5 separate regions of the Homo sapiens genome follow, and all the other regions are linked to region 2. Evidence: promoter capture Hi-C in human tissues and cell types (Jung and others, 2019). All regions are on one chromosome and are shown on one strand. Each heading gives the region's core, a stretch centred on a gene start or on the middle of the fragment in contact. The rest is flanking DNA. Distances are from core to core; before and after follow the strand shown. Region 1 overlaps XPO7 (exportin 7). Region 2 holds the start of BMP1 (bone morphogenetic protein 1). Region 3 overlaps XPO7 (exportin 7). Region 4 holds the start of LOC124901903 (a long non-coding RNA gene). Region 5 holds the start of SLC39A14 (solute carrier family 39 member 14).

Region 1 (2,700 bases), core at 75-2,574, 190 kb before region 2:
ATAGCAATGGTGAATGAACCTTATATTCGTTTTGTTTTATAAAATTATACAAGTAAAGCATAGAAATACTAGGCTAGTTATCTAGTCTTTTGAGATTAAGCTTGTAGCCTAAAGGTTCCAGCCATAAAGTCTTAATTATTTTTAAATTATTCCTGTCTAAAGGCCAATTCCTGCAGATGGTCAAGCTCTTTTGGGTCTCATCGTGTATCTGACTTTATGCTGTTCCTCAAACGGCCACAGGCTAGCACCTGGGGATTCACCTAATACTGTCTAGTTGAACTATTAAGATTGTCCTGACTCAGAAAACCCCTTAGGTGTACATTAGATTGTCATAAATGGAAACTGTGATGAGAAGGCTAATTTGCATACTTACCCTGAATAACATTTGAAAGCTATTGGGAATGGTGTATTTCTCTTTTAAAGCCATAATTAACCTAAAACCTCAAAATTCATTCACGTTCTAAAATACTATTGGTCTGGTATTTCAGATTGTTGGTGTAAATTACCGGTTGGTGTTATACACAAAATATATAAAGAAGACACAGTGAAGTAATGAGTGGTGTGCATAGTGTTTGTTCAGTAGAGGACTTTTCTGGCCATTGTAGCACTTCTCCAAATTAATGTAGACCTTTGTGTTCGCTGAAACATGATTTCAGTGTTGTCGGGTGTATCGTTAAGGTTACTGCAAGAAAAGGTAGCACAGTCAAGAGGGATGATTAAGAGAGTACTACTTGCAAAGGTATGGGTAAAATTAAGGGACACCAGCACGGGGTGGTGGTGCATGCCCCTGGGGCTGGCAGTAGTGGGGAGCCTCAAAGGGCAAGTGAAGGAAACCTGGAGAGAGTTGAAGCTGTGTCTTAGAGGAGGGCTGGACAACAAGAACTACAGCCATCACTAGAGAAACTCTGCCACTGCATAGCCAGCTGGATGGTCGGAAGAGGGGTACCCTGTTCCCTCTGCCCTCTAATCTCCTGCTGGTACTTTCCATTGGTTGAAGCCAACTAGAAGCCAGAGGGCAAGGGAGCTTGGCTGCTCTCCTCAACAGAGGTCAGCCTCCTAGGGAATAGGGCAGGGTGGAAAAGGGTCGAAAGCAGATCTAGAGGGGGCAAACAGAGAATGTAAATATCTAACACAGTGGGAACAGAGGGAAATGTCTTCAGGGATAAAGCTGGGTTGTGTTTTTTTGTTTGTTTGTTTGAGGCAGAGTTTTGATCTTGTTGCCCATGCTAGAGTGGAATGGCACTACCCATGGGTTCAAGCGATTCTCCTGCCTCAGCCTCCTGAGTAGCTGGAATTACAGGCATGAGCCACCACGCCCGGCTAATTTTATATTTTCAGTAGAGACAGGGTTTCTCCATGTTGGTCAGGCTGGTCTCAAACTCCCGACCTCAGGTGATCTGCCTGTTTCAGCCTCCCAAAGTGCTGGGATTACGGGCGTGAGCCACCACACCTGGCCAAAGCTGGCTTTTTTAGGGCCCAGATGTGATATGCTTATTTCTTTTTTTTTTCTTTTTTTTTTTCGTTTTTTTTTGTTTTTGAGACGGAGTCTCTCACTGTTGCCCGGGCTGGAGTGCAGTGGCGCGATCTCGGCTCACTGCAGCCTCCGCCTCCCAGCTTCAAGCGATTCTCCTCCCTCAGCCTCCCAAGTACCTGGGATTACACGTGCCTGCCACCACGCCCAGCTAATTTTTTGTATTTTTGGTAGAGATGAGGTTTCACTATGTTTGCCAGGCTGGTCTCAAATTCCTGACCTCGTGATCTGCCTGCCTCAGCCTCCCAGAGTGCTGGGATTACAGGCGTGAGCCACCACACCCGGCCGATACGCTTATTTCTTTATAGCATGTAATGACATAAGCACATAACATCTACATGTCAAACTCAGATTAGCCAAGAAAACTAAATCTAAAACTTTAAAGTATAAATTGCTCGATATTTTTAAGGGTGAAATAACGTATCTCAGCAAGAACAAAGATGCCATTGGAGTGGTCAAAGGAATTTGTACCTAAGGGAATTTCCAAACTGAATTTAATGGGCTGCCGTGGTCTGCTTGGATCTATGTTCTTTTCTTTTCTCTTTTTAAAATAATGTTGCTTCAGATATCCTAAAGAAGGATATTGTAGGAGGTGGAACGTTTCTGGTGAAAGTAACTGTACAGTCTTTTTAATCGTTGTGTTTGGGTTCTGCCCTGCATTTAGGTATTATCCTGCTTGGTACAGATCGCTTCAGTCAGAAGATCCCTGTTTAACAATGCAGAGAGGGCCAAGTTTCTCTCTCATCTTGTTGATGGTGTTAAACGAATACTGGAAAACCCACAGGTAAGTTTATCTGAGAATTTACATATGTATAGGATTAGTGTATGGCCAGCTGTTATGAGTCAGAAGGAAATCCATCCCAAGGCCCAGTAAACAATTCAGTCTGTTCTTCAGGGAAGACTGAAGTGAATCTCTATTTGTAGGCCAATTCTGAGATTATTTGCCCAAAAGAGGAGCTTATATCCTCCCGCTTCAGAAATGTAGGAGTTACAGGAAAGAATCACTTCGCTATAAGGAAATAAGGAAGAAGCTAGTCATTTTTCCCCCCAAGAAGTTAAGACTCTAACATCTCCGGGCACAGAGGCTCACGCCTGTAATCCCAACAGTTTGGGAGGCCAAGGTGGGCAGATCACTTGAGGTCAGGAGCTCAAGACCAGCCTGGCCAACA
Region 2 (2,700 bases), core at 1-2,500:
GAGGAGCGCTCGCGCTGACCAGGCGCTGGGGCGTCCACTGAAGCGGGGTCATCCAGGCAACTCGGGGGAGGGGAAGCTCACAGACCGGTACTTCCCACTCCCCTGATTCTCTCTGTCCATCCTCAACATTCCTTTGCTTCACAGGGTCAGTGGAAGCCCCAACGGGAAAGGAAACGCCCCGGGCAAAGGGTCTTTTGCAGCTTTTGCAGACGGGCAAGAAGCTGCTTCTGCCCACACCGCAGGGACAAGCCCTGGAGAAATGGGAGCTTGGGGAGAGGATGGGAGTGGGCAGAGGTGGCGCCCAGGGGCCCGGGAACTCCTGCCACAACAGAATAAAGCAGCCTGATTGAAAAGCAAAGGGTCTGCTTCTGTCTTCCTGCAGGGCGCAGTCCTGCCCTGGCGGGGGCCGGCCAAGAAGGGAAGGGCCTTGGGAGAGCAAAGTGGGGTTTGCCATTCGCCCTCTGTCCCAGGGCGCTGGGGCACTGGGTCCACCTCGGCGGGGGAGAGGGGCTCGCAGGGAGCCATCCACGGGCTTTCGGCGCCCTCCAGCGGCGTCTCCGGAGGAGGGAGAGACACCAAGACAGCGAGAGAGACAGAGCGCAGAGAGCGAGACGCGAGAGAGCGAGGGTCCAAGAAGGGGAGATAGGGAGACGCGGGCGGAGAGACCGACCCGAGGCGGGGGCGCGGGGCAGGGGCGGCGCGAGGACCTGACAGCGTGTCCCGCGGCGGGGCGGGGGCTCGGCCGCGCGCCCGCGGGGGAGGCCGCCGCTAGAGGGCACTTCAGGAGGGACAGCCCTCCCGGCACCCCGGGGCCCGAGCTCCAGCCCCGGCCTCGCGGCCCGCGGCCCGCGGCCCGGGCGGCCCGAGCCCCCTCCCCGGGCGCGCGGCTCTCCGCCTTCCCCGCCCCGGCTGGCGCGCGGCCCGGCCCGGCCGAGCACTGTCCCGGCCCCGAGGGGGGCAGAGCTCGGGCGAAAACCCGCCCTCCAGCGAGCTCATTTCCCTAAAAAGGGGGGGGGGAGTCGGAGGGAGGGAGGGAGGGAGAGAAAGAAAGAGAGAAAAAGAAGGAAAGGGAGAGGGAGACGGCTGGAGCCCGAGGACGAGCGCGGAGCCGCGGACCGAGCGGGGGGCGGGAGACAGGAAGGAGGGAGGCGAGCAGAGGGAAGGGGAAGAGGTCGGGGAGCGAGGGCGGGAGCGGTCGCGGTCGCGATCGAGCAAGCAAGCGGGCGAGAGGACGCCCTCCCCTGGCCTCCAGTGCGCCGCTTCCCTCGCCGCCGCCCCGCCAGCATGCCCGGCGTGGCCCGCCTGCCGCTGCTGCTCGGGCTGCTGCTGCTCCCGCGTCCCGGCCGGCCGCTGGACTTGGCCGACTACACCTATGACCTGGCGGAGGAGGACGACTCGGAGCCCCTCAACTACAAAGACCCCTGCAAGGCGGGTGAGCGCCCCCCGGCCCCCCGGCGACGGGCCAGGCGGGGAGGCGCGGGCGGGTTCGGGCTTGGGGTTGGGGGAGGACAGTCCAGTGTGGGAAGCCGGGAGCTGCCTGGTTGGCAATGCAGTGGGGAACAAAAGAACGAGGGGGAGAGGGAGGGGGATTTGGGGGACTTTTCGGACTGAAGTTTTGCCGCTGTTGGTGGAAGCTGCTGCCGCTGCCTCTCATCTTCCCAGAGGATTCCAGAGGAAGTCTCCTTGCGTCCCGGGAAAACCGGCGGGCAAGGCGGCTTTTCCTTCTGTAGGAAACTTTTCTGGCCAAACTCCTGTGCGTGCGTGTGTGTGTGTGTGTGTGTGTGTGTGTGTGTGTGTGTGTGTGTTCTTTCCCCTTCTCCCCCATCTCTCCTGCTCCAGGAGCTGGGTGTTTTCCAGCCTGTCTGGGCTGCCCTGGGGCTGCACATCTGTCTGGCTTGGATCTGGGAGGCCTGAGTCTCCAAGGAGCAGGTCCCCCAGCCACCACCCAGCCCAAGTGGAAGAAGAAAGTTTTTCCAGGGATTCCCTGAGATCGTGCTCTCTGGGTATCCCGTAGTTTAACCAGTAGCTGAAGCTTTCTGGGACTTAGGAGACAGCTGTCAAAGTCAGAGAAGCCAACCCAGAAGGGGGACTTAACTTTGTCCCTATGTGCCCAGAGACCCCCGCCAAGGCCAAGTTGGGGTGGAAAGAGGGAAAATACAAAGAGAACCCAGATATTGTATATCAGCTCTGTCACCCCCGAGACACCAGAGGCTAATTAGCTGAGGTCAGGACCCCGGAGTGTGTGTTTGCCTGTATGTGTGTGTGTTCTTTGTCTCTGAAGACTCTATGTAACCCCATCACTCCTGCTGAGCCCAGAAGGGTCCTGCCCCTGGAGTGACCAGATGGCCAGGCACTCGGGCCATTTGCCTGATTGGATGACCCTGGGCAGGCTGTTTGGGGACACACAGGGACAAGATATCAGAACTTTTCCTTGACTTCCTGCCTCTCTGACTTCAGCTCATCTCCAAATAGCCAGAGCCAGGGGAAGTGGCATAGTTGCTAGAACTGGACTGCCTGTGTGGGGCACCAGGGGCGGAGGGGCAGGTTGCTCTAGTCCTGGCTCTGGAGACCCTGTTCAGGGACTCTCCTGGGAGGGTGGCCCACAGGCAGGAATAAGAGACCATCCAATGGAGGAAATCAGGGCAAATCCCTCAGCCCTTACCCCTCTACACCTGCTGGGCTGCGGGTAAACCAGGACAT
Region 3 (2,700 bases), core at 130-2,629, 170 kb before region 2:
TTCATATAAAATGGTAACAATGCTTTGGCCCCTCTCCCTCAGTTGCCACTGAAGCCATAAAGGTCCATGCCAACTAATGGCTGAAGGGCTCTGCATTAGTATCAAGAGGCGACGGGTAGAAAGTATACTTTAATCAAGGCCGGGCACGGTGGCTCACGCCTGTAATCCCAGCACTTTGGGAGGCTGAGGCGGGCGGATCACGAGGTCAGGAGATCGAGACCATCCTGGCTAACATGGTGAAATCCCATCTCCACTAAAAATACAAAAAATTAGCTGGGCGTGGTGGCGGGCACCTGTAGTCCCAGCTACTTGGGAGGCTGAAGCAGGAGAATGGTGTGAACCCGAGAGGCAGAGGTTGCAGTGAGCCGAAATTGCGCCACCGCACTCTAGCCTGGGCGACAGAGTAAGACTCCATCTCAAAAAAAAGAAAGTATACTTTAATCAAATAAAATTGAGAATTTTCAAATAGTAATTTTATCTACTGCTGCTTTTTTTTTCTTATAAATGTTTTTAATTTGAGCAGCAGAATCTGAATCTAGCATGTTGGTCTTCAATATAGAAGCTACTTCATGGTTAAATATCTATAACTTGGTTATTCTCATATTAGGATAGGCAATTGCTTACCTTAATGTAAATGCAGGATCACCCAAGGTACTCAGATGAGAGCCTCAAGTACCCCAGTCTTCCAAGAAAACACCTCTGACTTTTTCTCCTCCTGTGCTCTCTGCTCAGGTCCCAGCGACTCCAGTTTGATGTCTCTTCCCCCAATGGCATCTTACTCTTCCGAGAAACCAGCAAGATGATAACAATGTATGGTAAGTGCTTCAGATAATCATGCCTCTAGAAGTTAATTCCAGCTCAGTCACCACACTGTAAGCAGCATGTGGGTCTCTGGCCAGTCCTGGCAGGAGCCAGGACAGCATTCGTATTGTATGCTAATACATGTGCATTAGAGTGCCACCTGTCACCAGGGGCCTACTGGAATTTGTATGCCTTTGGAGTAGGAAGGCTGATCTAAACGAGCGCTTCTAATGTGGTTGAATAAACATATATGACATGTCTACTCAGGCAATCGCATCCTGACACTAGGAGAGGTCCCAAAGGATCAGGTCTATGCTCTGAAGCTCAAGGGCATCTCCATCTGCTTCTCCATGCTGAAGGCTGCTCTCAGTGGGAGTTACGTCAATTTCGGAGTCTTTCGTCTCTATGGAGACGATGCCCTGGACAATGCTCTGCAGACCTTCATCAAGCTGCTCCTCTCTATTCCTCACAGTGATCTCTTGGTAAGCCTTACGCTGCATTGCCACAATCTTGTTCCTCATCACATTCAGCCTTTTTCACCTGAGACCAAGATTGAACACTGCTCTTGAGAAACTATGTAAGCTAGCTCCTTTTGCTCTAACTAAGTCTTCTGTTTTCCCACCTAAAAGGAGCTAAGCTATTTAAGATCGTCTCCCTGCATGCTGGAGTGCATAGTGCCTAAGCTGATTTTCTTCCTCTTCCTCTCCCACAGGATTACCCCAAGCTCAGCCAGTCTTATTATTCACTACTGGAAGTCCTGACCCAGGACCATATGAACTTTATTGCAAGCCTGGAACCTCACGTCATCATGTATATTCTCTCTTCCATTTCTGAAGGACTTACTGCACTTGGTAAGCACCTGAGGTGGGTGGGTGAGTTGGTGGGTTTGTTTTTTACCACTTAACTAAACAGAAAGAGAGAATCTTGCCCCAGTGTCCAAAAAGATCACCACTGCCTTGGGGGTTTGGCCATAACAATAGAGTATATAATGCACAGCACATGCTTATCCAGCACACACTCACTGATTCCCTTCCTAAGTACAAGGCCCTGTGGAAGCACTGAGGATACGGTAATTAACAGCATATAGTCCCTGTCCTTAAGGGGCTTATCTGGTGGGTAGAACAGACACATGAACAAACAACTGCCTGTTTACCATACTTACCACTTAAACATTACAATAGGGGTGAGTACAAAGTGCTACACAAGCCCTCAAGAATACCTAGACTCTTGGTTGTGAGGAAGTCAGGATCAAGGAAGACTGGCTGGAAGACTTGGCATCAAAGCATAAACCTAAAAGCTGGACAGATGTTACCCTGGTTAGCCAGGGAGGGTTCCTAGCAGCAGAGACAGCAAGCACTTGCACCTGTAGGCAAGAAAGAACCAGGAAATCCAGATGGCTGGCACACTAGTCCAGAGGAGTTAGGAATGAAATGAAGCTTTAGAGATAAGCAGGAGCAAATCTGGAGATCATGAAGGGGGCCCGCCTGTAAGCCGTATTAGGCTGTTTGAATTCTGTCCTGAGGGCCGTGGAAGCTGGGGAAAGGTTTCATGCAGCTAGCTCCATAAGTTTTTTCATCCTAGTCCATATGGTTTCTGTCAACCATTTTGTTTCTAGGCTACCTTCCAACAATTTTTTTTTTTTTTTTTTTGAGACGGAGTCGCTCTGTCGCCCAGGCTGGAGTGCAGTGGCGCGATCTCAGCTCACTGCAACCTCTGCCTCCCGGGTTCATGCCATTCTTCTGCCTCAGCCTCCCAAGTAGCTGGGACTATAGGCGCCCGCCACCATGCCTGGCTAATTTTTTTGTATTTTTAGTAGAGACGGAGTTTCACTGTGTTAGCCAGGATAGTCTCAATCTCCTGACCTCATGATCCGCCTGGCTTGGCCTCCCAAAATACTGG
Region 4 (2,700 bases), core at 80-2,579, 210 kb before region 2:
AGAGTATGTCTGCACACTGAAATTTCTCGGTGGATCCTAGTGAGGGAAGACTCAGCGGCACTCCCACTTCATTGACCTATTTGTTACAGGGTGCCCATAGCTTCAGATGTGCTTTTGACTGGCTTGGTGTCTCTCAGTCCAAAGAGAGGGACAGTTACTGAGAGGCATACAGTGAGGAGGACTATCTGGGAATCTTAACTTCTCAAAGATACTTTCACCCTGTTTCTCCTTCTTTGGGCCACCCCACTTCACCTTAACATCTGAGCATGTAGCATAAATGAAGTTTGTTCAGCTTTTCTCACTGCTGGCTAGGGATTTGGCTTTCTTAGTTCATTTAAGTCAGTTACCATTGATTTTTCTGTATCCCAAAATTATGTTGCTGTTGTCCTCTTTCCTGTCTTCCCTATCTATCCTTGTGGGATCCTGAGGGTTTAGGGCTTGGTTTTGTTTTGAATACCTTTAGTGTTGTGTTAGTTGGGTTTGGGGAGGGAACAAAATTAGATATGTGATCAATCTGCCATTTTAATATGAATTTCCTTTGGAAGCTTTAAGAGTTAGACTTATCCAATGTTAAGACGTTCTTATGAAGCTCCTACTGTGTGCCAGACACTCTTGTACTTTGCATTTCCATCCCAGTCCATGCACTGTGCTCACTGGGATTATAGGCATGCACAACCATGCCTGGCCTTGCTTTGCCTTCTTGTTTCAGCTTTCACACTGTAAACAACTGTAAGGTCCTTTCCGGGTTTTTTTTTTCCCACTGCCATGTTTCTTGCAGTTTTGTGCTTTTTGTTGGTAATTCCACTGCTTAAAATGGCCCACAGAGTGCTGAAGTGCTGTCTATGTCTAGTTCCTAAGTGCAAGAATTATGAAAAGTCATAATTCATGCATAATTAATAGAAATGGCGATTTAAGCAAACGTTTGAGACAGTTGTACAGACATTAATATGGAAATTACATAGGCTAACAAATACTTCTATTTGAACAAATACCTTTAAAAAGTGGCAATAAATATAATTATGTTTCTATGGAGAAGTATGTACTGAATCCCACCCAGTGGTGCCAGAAATAAAACTGATCCTCATTATTCCTTGTTGTCATGTTCTGTAAAGTCACCGAGAACACTGAATTAGCAAATACTGACCCATTGCTCCTAGGGGAAGTATAGGGTTAGATTCAGGCCAGCTGCTAGTCACCACATTTGCGTCAAACAAGCAATATGTAACCATGTTTTATTTGTGTTTTTGTTTAAAGATATTTTAAACCATATTGTTGATTTATTAGCGTTAAACTAATGGCCAAAAGCACAGTAACTCATGACTGAATGAAATTTATCTAACACACACAATTTCACCATAAGTTACATCACAGCCGTCTTGCCCTTAGGAACTCGACATAGCACTTCAGCACTCTGTGGGCCATGTTAAGCAGTGAAATTACCGACAAAAAGCACAAAACTGCAAGAAACATGGCAGTGAAAAAAAAAAAACCCGTAAAGGACCTTACAGTTGTTTAGTGTGAAAGCTGAAACAAGGCAAAGCAAGGCCGGGCATGGTTGCGCATGCCTATAATCCCAAGTGCTTTGGGAGGCTGAGGCGGGTGGAATACCTGAGGTCAGGAGTTGGAGACCAGCCTGGCCAACATGGGGAAAACCCCATCTCTACTAAAAATACAAAAACCAGCCGAACATGGTGGCGCACACCTGTAATCCCAGCTACTTGGGAGACTGAGGCAGCAGAATCACTTGAACCCGGGAGGTAGAGGTTGCAGTGAGCCGAGTTCGCGCCACTACACTCCAGCCTGGGTGACAGAGTAAGACTCTGTCTCCAAAAAAAAAAAAAAAAAGAGGCAAAGCATGGCAGTGTTGAGCCTCAGCTGGGATTGTGTAAGTCAGGTAACTCAAATTGTTGACCACTCTGTCCACGTGCATGAATGACTGCAGAAGCACCCTGAGCGAATATGGATTTGATGATTACAAATACATTTTAGTGAGTAGGTGAATTCACAAAACAGAATCTGCGAATAACGAGGATCAATTATATATTTGATCCCTGATGCCCCTGGCCCTACAGGGGAAAGGGCATTTATAATCCCCTTAGAAGAAACAGTGCAGATTTTGTGTGCGCTCATGCAAGCAATAAAAAAGCTGCTATTCTCCAGAGTTTTTGGTAGCCAGTATAATCAATAATAGCCAGTAATAATTAGCAGTGTACACACATTACTTCATTGACTTTTACAACCTTGTAAAGTGGGTGTTATTTCTATGTAAAAGAAAGGGAAAATATTTGAATGATTTGAGTAACTTAAGTCATGCTCCTACAGTAGACGGAGGAGTAGGGATTTGTCTGCCACCTAAAATCTTACCCATTACTCTGTACTGAATCAACTCCAAAAGAAACCTTGTTCCTGCTGCTAGGTCACTGAAGTTGTTTGTGGGTAAAGATCCTACACTACAATCACAAGGATGTGAGTGTTACCAATTTATTTTTTTAAAATACCATTCTCACTTTAAAAAAAAAATGTCCTAATCATCGTTTTCATGATCATTTTAACTTCAATATTTGTTTACTTGGAATTCTCATTCACTAATATAATTAAAACATGATGGATAGTTTATTGCAGTCAAAGAATCTTAGAACTGGAAGTGTCTTTTAAAAATCATGTAACAAAATGCATTTACTTTACCTACCTATGAGAAAC
Region 5 (2,700 bases), core at 138-2,637, 200 kb after region 2:
TTTCACTTTATCTCTGGGTGGGCTTCTCACTCCTTTTCCAGTGCTTCAACAAAAGGTGTGGCGGGGACTGGCCCCTTTCTCACAGCCCACTGCAGTGGGATGAGAGTCCCAAACGGATGACATAATGTCTGGAAAGCACCGAGTTTAACCAAGAGAGAAATAGGGTTATTACAAAGATGAAGGGGCTCTGAGGGAAATTCTGCAAGAGATATCATTACTTTGAAATCACTTGGAAAATAAATGAGAGGAATATCACCCTGCCCCCATACCCACTGCAGCACTGTAATTACGGGGTGAGGATAATTGAATTTTAGAAACGCCCGGGGCCCAGCTACACTCTTCAAAAGTAATATGAAGAATCTGACCCCCTCTGGCCTGGCGAAGAGCAAGCTCCTGAGTTCTTGCTACCGGCTCCAGCGACTGTCTGCTTTCCTTTTCTCCTTAGCGCCGCCATCACGGGGGTCCTCCCCGCAAGACCTGCAGAGAGTGGGATGTTGCCCCCTTCCCTGCGCAAATTTAGAGACAGCTAGTGCCGTCTGGGGACCAGTCACTGTGCTAGGATCAGCTCGAGTACTAAGCCGCGACAGTTGGGCTAGAAAGCCCTTCCTCCGAGCCCCCCAAGGCCCAGGTGGCAGCGGGTTCAGCTCATAGAGGAAATTGTCCTGATGTCCTGCAGAACAGAACAATGGGAGTGGAAAGGGTGGTTTATTTTCTCAAGAAATCGACTACATTTCCCAGGCCTGATATACATCTCAATGGGACTGTCCCACAGAGGAAGAGTCTCCTCGGAACTTCTTCACCCCCAAATTAACATTTCTCCCAACTTTGGGTTAGTAGGGTTCTTTAGGCGTCTGATCATTGTGGGAAGCGGTGCGGCATCAAGTCTGAAAAGTGAATATAATATGGTTTATTTGGAACTCGACCAGGAAATTTTGGTTCTTTTGGCTGGTGGAAATATGCAGAAGAAACACCATCTAAGGGCGCGTCCCCTTCTGAAGTACCTTTCCGAACTGGGGAGGGAAGAGAAAAGCTTTTTGGGTGAACCAGAAGTGGTAAAATCACATTCAAATAGAGTGGGTAGGACTCTCCTCCAGGGGGTGTGGGGTGGAGGCTAGGCGGTGAGAGCTTCCCGCGCCCAGGGAGCAGGTCTTCACGGGAGGTTTCCGGAGGCAGGAGGAGCCTGCGGGTCCTCGGGAGTCACGGCCGGATGAAGGATGGGAGCGGGCGCCGACCACAGCCAGGGCCGCGAGGCGCAGGAGGGCGCAGGCTGGCCAGGTCCCCAGCCTGCCGGCCCCACGTGGCAGCCCCGGGGCGAGCGGGGCGGGCCGGGGGCGGGTCCGGCCGCTGACGCGCCGGGTATATAGCCGGGCATGCGCGCGGTGCCGGGGCCCGGACGCAGTGAGGGGGGTCGGCGCGCGTGTCTACGCGGACGCACCGGCTAAGCTGCTTCTGCCGCCGCCGGCCGCCTGGGACCTTGCGGTGAGGCTGCGCGGGGCCGAGGCCGCCTCCGAGCGCCAGGTGAGGGCGGGGACGCCAAGGGCCGCGGGATGGGCAGCGGCGGAGGAGCCCCGCACCCCAGGCTGGGGCAGTGGGTGGGGGCGGGGACAGCCCTGCGCCGAGGACCGGGCGCCGCTCCCGGGCACCGGCACACGCCCGGACGGCTGGGTGGAGGCTGCACCTGGCCGTGGTGCCGCGCTGGCGAGGGGAGAGGTCAAGGCGCGGCCTGTCCGCCTGGAGGGTGCGGGATGCTAGAGCCGCAGAAGGGTGCCCAGAGCGTGGGTCGCCGCGCCGAAGGCTGAGCCAGGCTCCCGGATTCCCCGCGCGGACACGGACGCAGAACGCAGACAGTAGGTGGCCAATCCGAGGGGCGGCTCTTGGGGCGGCTCTATGGGGCTCTGGGGTCTGGACTTTGCTTTTCAGGAGCTGCGTCCCCGGGCCCCCGCCGGTCCATCTCCCCTCTGAAGGTACATGTACCCAATCTTCCGGCTGAGCGAATCTCCAACCTGGCTTGCCCACGAGGATGGCTTTCTGGCTATTTTTGGTCCTTAATGACCAAGTTAGGTGGTCGGGTTCAGGCTGCCCCCTCTTGGTGGGTGAGGGCAGTGGGACAAAGTCGCCATCCGAGCAGTTTCATCATCTGATCCTGAGGTCCAGTTGAGCCGGGAAAATTTCGTCAGCTCTGGACTAGGGGTTCACTTTTGAGGATCTGGTGCTTGCCAGGGCCTGGGTTCCAGAGACAGGCTTCTCTAAACAGTTAAAGGGCTCGGCTGTACAGGAGGACTCCGGACACAATTGGGGAGTGGCTAAGTGCTCTCTTGTGGCCCGAATGGAAGCGTGGGGTTAGGAGCAGCTTTGACCTGACCCTTCTTCCTGGAGCAAGCCTGGTTTGGGTTTACGTCTTTAGTGGCTCTCCCCTAGGAGCCCCAGGCCATTGGGACGGCTGTGCTCCTGCTGAGGAGTGGCCTGGGAGTTAGCCCTGGCCTCTGTCCCTGCTCTGCTCTTAACTGGCCCTGTGACCTTGGGAGGGTCAGGTCAGTACCACGGTCAGACTAGATCTCCTTAACCACAGCATATACAATTCCGTAATCCTTCCCTCTTTTATTTTATTTTATTTTATTTTATTTTATTTTATTTTATTTTATTTTATTGTATTTTATTTTATTTGAGACGGAGTCTCACTCTGTTGCCCACGCAAGAGTG

The links. The method cuts DNA at HindIII sites, captures the fragments that hold promoters and counts their contacts. A contact is called where the count stands out against the background at its distance.
Region 1: a contact is called between a fragment that was not itself captured here and the fragment with the promoter of BMP1 in region 2, in 1 of the 25 tissues and cell types used here (spleen).
Region 3: a fragment that was not itself captured here is called in contact with the fragment with the promoter of BMP1 in region 2 in 1 of the 25 tissues and cell types used here (lymphoblastoid cells).
Region 4: a contact is called between a fragment that was not itself captured here and the fragment with the promoter of BMP1 in region 2, in 1 of the 25 tissues and cell types used here (bladder).
Region 5: a contact is called between the fragment with the promoter of SLC39A14 here and the fragment with the promoter of BMP1 in region 2, in 3 of the 25 tissues and cell types used here (IMR-90 fibroblasts, bladder and heart right ventricle).

What each region holds. Positions count from the first base shown.
Region 1 is chr8:21,977,889-21,980,588 of GRCh38, forward strand. It overlaps XPO7 (exportin 7), which reads left to right. Exons shown (of 28, transcript NM_015024.5): 9 at 2,196-2,315. Among named protein-coding and RNA genes, the nearest start is that of NPM2, 45 kb to the right of the region's middle. The HindIII fragment of the contact is 9,023 bases long and covers 1-2,700 here.
Region 2 is chr8:22,164,122-22,166,821 of GRCh38, forward strand. It overlaps BMP1 (bone morphogenetic protein 1), which reads left to right and starts at 1,251. Exons shown (of 20, transcript NM_006129.5): 1 at 1,251-1,432. The coding sequence starts at 1,285. It overlaps SFTPC (surfactant protein C), which reads left to right. Exons shown (of 6, transcript NM_001317778.2): 6 at 145-358. RefSeq lists a silencer at 507-1,546. The HindIII fragment of the contact is 7,716 bases long and covers 1-2,700 here.
Region 3 is chr8:21,998,023-22,000,722 of GRCh38, forward strand. It overlaps XPO7 (exportin 7), which reads left to right. Exons shown (of 28, transcript NM_015024.5): 22 at 733-815; 23 at 1,069-1,283; 24 at 1,514-1,652. Among named protein-coding and RNA genes, the nearest start is that of NPM2, 25 kb to the right of the region's middle. The HindIII fragment of the contact is 4,535 bases long and covers 1-2,700 here.
Region 4 is chr8:21,957,134-21,959,833 of GRCh38, forward strand. All of the region lies in intron 1 of XPO7 (exportin 7), which reads left to right. LOC124901903 (a long non-coding RNA gene) reads right to left here and starts at 1,140. Exons shown (of 2, transcript XR_007060847.1): 1 at 1-1,140. The HindIII fragment of the contact is 7,088 bases long and covers 1-2,700 here.
Region 5 is chr8:22,365,891-22,368,590 of GRCh38, forward strand. SLC39A14 (solute carrier family 39 member 14) reads left to right here and starts at 1,388. Exons shown (of 9, transcript NM_001128431.4): 1 at 1,388-1,518. RefSeq lists enhancers at 1-487, 2,023-2,272 and silencers at 1,033-1,702, 2,628-2,700. The HindIII fragment of the contact is 10,534 bases long and covers 92-2,700 here.